Regions from separate parts of the Homo sapiens genome. Here region 2 is linked to region 1. Evidence: promoter capture Hi-C in 16 types of primary human blood cells and fetal thymus (Javierre and others, 2016). All regions are on one chromosome and are shown on one strand. Each heading gives the region's core, a stretch centred on a gene start or on the middle of the fragment in contact. The rest is flanking DNA. Distances are from core to core; before and after follow the strand shown. Region 1 holds the start of GNG12-AS1 (GNG12, DIRAS3 and WLS antisense RNA 1). Region 2 overlaps LRRC7 (leucine rich repeat containing 7).

The links. Contacts are between HindIII fragments. The CHiCAGO score rates a contact against its expected background, and 5 or more counts as called.
Region 2: a fragment that was not itself captured here is called in contact with the fragment with the promoter of GNG12-AS1 in region 1 in 4 of 17 cell types (M2 macrophages, M0 macrophages, M1 macrophages and 1 more); the score reaches 11.6 in M2 macrophages.

What each region holds. Positions count from the first base shown.
Region 1 is chr1:67,830,864-67,834,852 of GRCh38, reverse strand. GNG12-AS1 (GNG12, DIRAS3 and WLS antisense RNA 1) reads right to left here and starts at 2,565. Exons shown (of 10, transcript NR_040077.1): 1 at 2,417-2,565. GNG12 (G protein subunit gamma 12) reads left to right here and starts at 1,386. Exons shown (of 4, transcript NM_018841.6): 1 at 1,386-1,509. The HindIII fragment of the contact is 10,966 bases long and covers 1-3,681 here.
Region 2 is chr1:69,724,779-69,728,699 of GRCh38, reverse strand. The region is part of intron 2 of LRRC7 (leucine rich repeat containing 7); the gene reads right to left. Among named protein-coding and RNA genes, the nearest start is that of LRRC7, 160 kb to the right of the region's middle. The HindIII fragment of the contact is 3,682 bases long and covers 1-3,673 here.

The DNA.
Region 1 (3,989 bases), core at 1,316-3,815:
GTGGTCTGTGGCCAAAAAATACAAACTCCAGTATGCCACCCTCTCAGTCCCTGTGGTGTCAAGCTGTTCTGTTTCAGGTGTATCATTTGAACTGTTAGTACTTGTGAATCAGTCAAGCATTTCCTAATGCTGAACAGAACAGGAAATAAAGACCCCTCTGGCAGTCTGTGGCTTGCATCCCACAAACCACCGCCATCCGCAGCTTGCTAAGACCACACTCCTGGGGCAAGGCATGCATTCATACACCTACTCTACCTGTGACACCTCTTCTACATGTGCAAATGATTTCACTAAACCTGAAACTTGCTTAGGGGTCAGAAGGAAAGCAAGAGGGAATATAATGCCCTGACTGCAGTCCCTAGTTCCCAGATTCCCCAGGGCCCACTTGTCCTCAGTTGGTGAAACTCAATACACAGACATCCCTCACCAATGCTTTCAGACTCCATTTCAAGTGTGGACTCTGCCCACACTGGTTCTAAGTGACCTACTTTGGCCTCACCTCTTTTCTCTCCACCCTGTCAAACAAGAAAGCGGCTACCTAGGAATACTCTAGAAGTCCGCTGAGTGGTTTTCTGAACATCCAGCTTCTTTACTCTTTCTGGACTCCAAGAAGGCAAGCCCCTTGTCTGATTCATCTTTGTACCTCTCCCATCACCTTTAGCATCGCAGTTGGTACACAGCGGGTGCTTGGTAATGTCTGTCGAATGGCCAAAGGAATAGTACAAAATCTGTGGAAGCGGAAATGGCTCCTCCATTTACCCGACCTTGAACCCTTCCAGAAAAGACCAACCAAATCCCATTAATTCATTAGGCAGAACTCTGCCAGGTACTGGACATTCGGAAACAAATTTCAGGGGGTCGGGGCAGATGGACGGGAAGCTCATGGTGGGTGGATGTACTACAAATTCTATAATCCGCAGTTATACCTCCACTTTCTGGGAAACTTCTCTCCGTGGCCCCAGGGCCCTTTAAATGTTACTATGCGTGTTTTCCTCCATAGTTTCTGGAACAGAACCAAACTTTCGTGTAGGGGTTTGGCAGCGCTCATCCTCACAGCCCTGGGGACCGCTGGCACAGGGGCAAGCGAGGCGTTCGCACGCGAAGGAAACTTGCGAGGAGTCAGGGCGGCCCCGCGCGGGGGCGGGTCGTAGAGTGGGGGCCCTCAAGTCCTAGAACTTCAGGTCCTCCATGAGAATTAGAGGAAGGGGGATGGCCAAAGACGACCAGACGTCCACCGAGCTTCCACAGGCCAGGCCTCGCCCCTCCTCCTGCGGGGCCACAACGCGGGCTCCCCGGCCCGGGACAGCACAGCCAGGGCGTCCGGGCGGGAGGCAGGGCCCGGCGCGGAGGAAGGAGCCCGGGGCCGCCGCCGCCCCGCCCACCCCAGCGAGGCGGAGCCGGCGCCCGGAGGAGCAAGAGGAGGAGGAGGAGGAGAGGTCGGAGCCGTCTCCAGGAGCCCTTAGAGACCGAGTCCCGGCGGCGACGGCGGGGCAGCGCACCGGCAGGCGGGTGAGTACCAAGCGGCGGGCGCGGGTGGTGAGTCGGGTCCCCGCGGGGTCGGGGCGCGGCGCGGGGCGTCGGCCAGCGAGTTCGGGGGCCGCCTCCGAGTCCCGGGTGCTGGGAAGCGAGATGGAGGGAGGGAGCGGAGGAAGGAAGGAAGGAGGGAAGAGTGTCCTGCTGGAGGGCGGGGACTGGTCTGGGCGCTGGGCGCCGGAGACCGGGGGGAGGGGGAGGAAGGGGCCAAGGGACACCGAGACCCAGAGGCAGAAACGGCGCGCGCGCCCTCGACGGGCGGCCGCCCGAGGTTGCGGGAAGCCGCCCCCACGGCTGTGGCTGGGGCTAGGGCTGGGGGTGGAAGGAAAGGTCTCCCCTTGAGCTCGCTTGCCTCCTCGCCAGCCTGCGGCCGTGCGCCCCGCGCCGGGTTGGGAGGCCCCCAGTGTTCCCAGCCGTGGCTTGTGGTGGTGTCAGGCGTTGGAGGAGGGCTGGCATGTGGGGGCGACAGGGACGCCACGCCCCTCTGCCTACTTTCTACCTCCCGGGACCAGCCGGCGGGAGCGCAGCCTTGGAATCCGCTGGGCGCTGGGGGTCTAGCAGGGAAATAGCGGGTCGCAGAGGGGAGAGCCCATATGACGCACCCCGCGAGGGACCCCCGAGTGGGGACCCGAGGCTGCTTTTCTGCAGACTGTATTTGCAAGTGGTAAGGGGGAGGTTGAGGCTTAGTCTTGGGTGATTTTTTTTTTTTTAATTATTGCCCCGACAGTTATCCCGTGGGGCAGGGTGAATTCTGTTTTTCATTTTAATTAGGGCATATCAATTAAAGCTAACTTTAAAACGCTGTCACTTAGCACCTCCCGTCACTCACTCGTCCCTCGCTTTGTGTGTCCTGTAAACTTGGCTTAAATCATTCATAACTCACGATAAGGAAGCCGTGATTCTTGTTCACGTCGCCGCAGTGGAGTGAAACTTTGCCCAACTGGGACTGAGTGGAGGCATTGCTGCGGCCGGTCATCTGGTGGTCATCCTGCCGGGCGTGGTTGTATACAAACAAGTGGGTCGAGAAGGAAATCTCTGAACACCAGAGGTAGAAGGGAGGTTCCTGCGCCCACGTGTCAGGGCGCGTTTAATGGCTGCTCCCAGCGGAAACAAACGGGAATTTATTAGACCGTGTGGAGTTGGACAAACTTCACATGATTAGCTTCCTTCCCATCAGTTACTTCCTCTCCCCCCTGCTGTCTTTGCCGACACAGTTTATATTTCCTGGGGCGGTTGTAGCTTCGCCTGAATAGGCTGTGTATAATGAATCTTTTGGATGTCGTCAGAGGCAGGGTCTGCGTCTGTGCCTTCTCTATTTTAAAAGCGGAGTTTGGCTTTGTTTTTAAAAGTGCTAGTCACCAGACTGCACCCTTGCCAGCGCTTCGCAGCTCTCGAAGTAAATTATCGCAGGATGGCGGCCCTCACCTAGGAGAACCAGGAAGGCAGGCAGCGCTAGAACGACGGGATTGAATTTTACTATTGCCAAAACAATCACATTCAAGTAAGGAGCTGTTTTGTTTTGTTTTTGTTTTTTTAACCAAATTATATATACTAGCAAGCCCCTTTTCTAGTAAACTAACGTTATTCACACACACAATTTTTAAAGTAATCAAAAATTTTACAGAGTCTTAAGTGATAAAAGGACTTTCAGATAAAATGTTCAGTCCCTTTGCCTTCTCTAATAGTTAACCAGCGCCGTAAAGCCCTGGTTTAAGTCCAAAAAATGCTGAAAAGTCTACTGCGTCGTTAGACCTTATAAATAATGCAGTCCTATTTTTGCTGTATTTAACTCATGTAATTTACTAGATATCGAACCCCCAACAGGGCACACAGCACTTAGATTTGTGTAGAAATATATGAAAATGTGAATCTGTGTTTCACAAGAGCCTGAAAAAAATAGAATTATAAAAATTTCCTGTCCAGAAAGCTCCAGTCTTACTTGAAAGCTCTCTAACAATTAGATTTGTGGATTTGTGTTGTCACTTGTTAGAGAATATCGGTGGTTTATTAAAGTGTGAGAGCAAAGGGCTTCATGGTCAGAAAACTTGAGGAAGTGGTTAGCCAATATCAAATTAGTTTTTTTTAAAATTAGAATTATGTGATTTATTGTGTTTTGCTTTGTTTTGGAGTTTTATGTCAGCTTAAGCTTAACCTAGGAAGGCAAGTTGTGAAAGCAAGTAAATTTTTCTGAGCCCTAACTTGGAAGAGAAGCTTGTTTAACAGTGATTTGGGGTGTTGGCTTTGGAGTCAGACAGACTTAGATGAAAATATTAGCTATTTAACCTTTTTCAGTCTGATTTATAAGATGGGGATAATAATGGTCTCTATCTGTAGGGCTTTACAGAAAGTATATGAAAACTTTGTCTTTGGAAAACACTTAAACTGGACTTAACACGCAGTACATGGTCAAAATTATTAGATATTTATCTAGCTTGTTCAAGCAGCAGGCTACTGGA
Region 2 (3,921 bases), core at 583-3,082, 1.9 Mb before region 1:
GCAAATAAGTTCTATTCTCTATTAGGAAAAGTTGATCCAATTTCATAAAATGAAAGAAAATGTAATTAATTTTCACATTTCTTTGGCTCATGATCATGGAAAGAGCTGGGATTTGGAGTCCCTTTTTCTTTTTCTAGTTCTCTTACTCTCCACAATGGCAGATATTTTGATGTAGCAATAACTATCTAATCTGTCTTGTTCACAAGGAGTACACTGCACAGTAGGTGAAGCCAATGAACTGCAGGATAGCTTTATCCTTCCTTCCCTTGCTGCATATTTTATGGCCTTTAATGTAGCTTCATTTCTTGTTAAATGCATTCTCCAGGCAATTTGACAGATGGGACTGACTTTTTTTTTGTTTATATGGTATTTTCAAAGCAAGAACAAATCTGCCCATTTCAAACAGTTTCTAGTTAGATCTAAGTAAAGATGTTACATGATTCCCATTTTTTTAATAGGGAGAGTGTGAGTGGGGGTTGTTTTTGGTTAAATCGAATTTAATAGACTAGAAATTTATACTTTCCAGAAAACCTGTCACTAATACATCTTAAATATTAAACTATTCTATCAATACATTAAAAAGAGAAATAAATCTATGGTACTATATATTCTGAAAAAAGTAATAAAACTGCCAGTAAATACACATCTCAGGTGACTGCCAGAGACAGCTGGATATTGAATTAAGCACCTGCAGGGAATGGAAAGACACAGGGTGATAAAAATGGTTGACACGAGGATATAAGTTCATGTTGATTCAAATCCCTTCTGGGAACTATTTTTACACCATCCTCACACTCAGAGCTTCCATAAATTAATAATTGCCAAAATGATTAACAGCTTTTAATCTTTTTCTATATTTATGAACATAAGATTATGGTAAGATTTCGTAGTTATAATTGTAGCCTATTTATTTAGTGTCTTCTTCTAAGGAAATGTAAAGTCCCACAGAAAATATGTAAAACCAGACTCTTCAATACACTCTGAGCCTTCAAATAATACATCAAGTCTTGGTTTATAGTTTCTAAATTCCTCAACTTAGAGCTCACACAGAAAGCCTCCTTTCTAATGAAAATTGATCTAGAAAAAGCAATTCTGTAAAGTATGGTAATTTTACACATAAGTATTAATGGGAGTGGCTATAGGAATCCACTTAGACTTGTATTGTCCCCTATGGTACTAGTGACAACTCAGTGAAACAGTGAAAGAAAAGACAGCTACTTAATTGCAGGACATATAAGTAAAAGAAGTAGCTATCTAAGAAGAAAATCTGTCAGTAAAGGAGTCAGATTGGCAAAAAGATGATGGCGGGGAAAATTTGGAAGAGAGAATTAGTGGCTATAATTATAAAAACCCCTTACAGCAAAGCATTCTTCACATTCATTTTCTTCATTCTCTCCTGGGAAGCTGTGAGGTGCTGACCATCCCAGATCCCTTGCAGGATGGAATCATTCATTCTCCCAGCTGCCAGAAGGTTGGCCACTAATGGCTCACCAGTGCATCCCTCTCTGGGCCCTGCCCTTGACTGAAGGGAATTACCTCATCCAGGATACATCCCTCCAATGACTGAGGCTGGTTTGAAAGCCCAGCTGCCTTGCCTCATTTTGGCACAATACTGAAGGGCTTTCCCAGCTCCAGTGCTACCCTTAGGTTCCATTGAGGCATGTGTTGCAACCTCACTGTAGTTCAAATTCTCTCTCTACCCAGAACCACCCAATAATTCTCCTGCACACAAATTTTTACCTTGGAGTCTGTTTCCAAGGAATCTGACCTAAGATACAGTCAGTAGCTTAACCTACATGGTTATAAAGTTCTCCTGCAGGTCCCCAAATATCTTAACCACCAGATTCTATGAACTCAGACTTTCTTTTCTTTGCAGTTTTTTATTTAATTCTGTTATTTTTTCCTTGGTATTCTTTTTTTTTTCTTCTGTGGACATAATTGACTCTGGCCCTCTTACATTTTCAAATTTTAAAGAAATTTAAAGGCAAGTTTTGCTCTCTATTCTCTTCTTACCTTGCTTCTTGGTTTTCTTGGTCAACCTCATTTATACCCTTGGCTTTAGTTACGATCTTCATGGTAAAATCTCCTGAATCCACATCTTTAGCCCAGATCTCTGTTCTTCATTTCAGAAACACACTTACCCACATAGTATTGCTACCTGGATATCCAATGACTGTTCCTGGTAGCCATTCTCTCTACCTTCTTCCATAATCTCCCTCAATCCATCCTTTACACTATGACCAGTGGTGCCATATTTAATGACATCAATACAACTATTGTCATTGTTCCATTGTTGCTGTTTTAAGGAATCTTTACATTTCTATCTAATAAGCCTATAACTCTATAGAGGTTTATTATGGTGATAAAATTTTATGATAGCTTCTTCATCCAATTTCTTTCAAGGAAACTCTTTCCTCCTGGCAATACAGTAGAAATAGAATGGCCCTTCAAGTCATATAGAAATAGACTGCAATGGTTTTCCCTTTAGTAACCAGGGTAACTGTCAAAAAGCCACTTAAGTAACTTCTCTGCATCTCAGTTTCTCATATTACTTATACAGATAATATGAAGGCTAAGTAAGAAAATGTGTGTATGAATGTATTTTGACTACATTGAAATGACTTGATAAATGTGAATTTTACTCTCTTCTGCTGTTCCATCTTTCTCTAGGTTAATGGTTATAGCTTTAGTTTAAACAACTAAACTCAGTTAGTCAATTCCAGCTAGAGAGTGCTGTCTAGGCTACAGGTAGGGTCCAGGCCCTTTGTTCAGCACAGATTATTTAGAAATATAGTCAAACAGACATGGCAGCATCAAAACTTGATTTCCTGGTATCGGAACACTCAGGGCACAGAAACCAAGCTGCTGGGTCATGTGGGGCTCCCCAGAGCAGCACAGGTCTGGACAGGAGCCTGGAGTGTGAAGCTGGTTGTAGTCTCTCTCTGGCCATCATGGCCTTGAGAGACAAACACGGTTTGACAAGTTCCCTTCTTGCCTCCAATCTCTCTTTCCTGTGTTGACTATTTCTGGCTCACCCCAGAGTTCCAATAACTTCCTCTAATCATATTAAAAACGTTTAGGCACCTTGAGTGTATGTTGGCATTTCGTACCTATACAGAATCTGAAGAATCTTGTCATCAATTTCATTCTTTAGATTTTCAATTTCTGCCCATATAAATGCCACCTCTAACCTGTAACAATTGGTTTTCAATTTTAGGTTATTCTTCATGGACAATATTATATTATTTAAAATTTCTCTTTGGCTTCCTAACAGAATGACTGATATACTTTCAGTAGGATATGAACTTGGAAGTTGTTTGGAGTTAGTACAGTTGACCCTTGAACAACACAGGTTTGAATTGTACGGGCCCACTTAAACGTGGATTTTCTTCCACCTTTGCCACCTCCAAGATGGAAAGAGCAACCTCTTCTCTTCCTCCTCCTCCCCCTACTCAATGTGAAGACAAGGATGAAGACCTTTATGATGATCCACTTTGACTTAATGAACAGTATATATATTTTTCTCTTCTTTACGATTTTTTAAATAACATTGTCTTTTTTCTGGCCATATCATAAGAATACAGTGTCTAATATACTCTGTAATATACATATATATATAAAACATGTATATATATTAATTGTCCAGTAAACAGCGGGTATTAGTAGTTAAGCTTTTGTGGAGTCAAAAGTTATATTTGGTTTTGTGATTGCTTGGGAGGATTGGTGCCCCAAACCCTTATGTTGTTCAAGGGTAACTGTATTTGTAATAGTATAAGCTTATCACACTTTAAAAAAACTAAATATATGAACCAAATAAATGTCTAATTATTTATAGTAACAGTTGAAAAGGATTTATTCTAAAATAGCAAGTTCCTATAGTACAGTGAAATGATTTTATTTAAAAAAATTCAATAACCACAA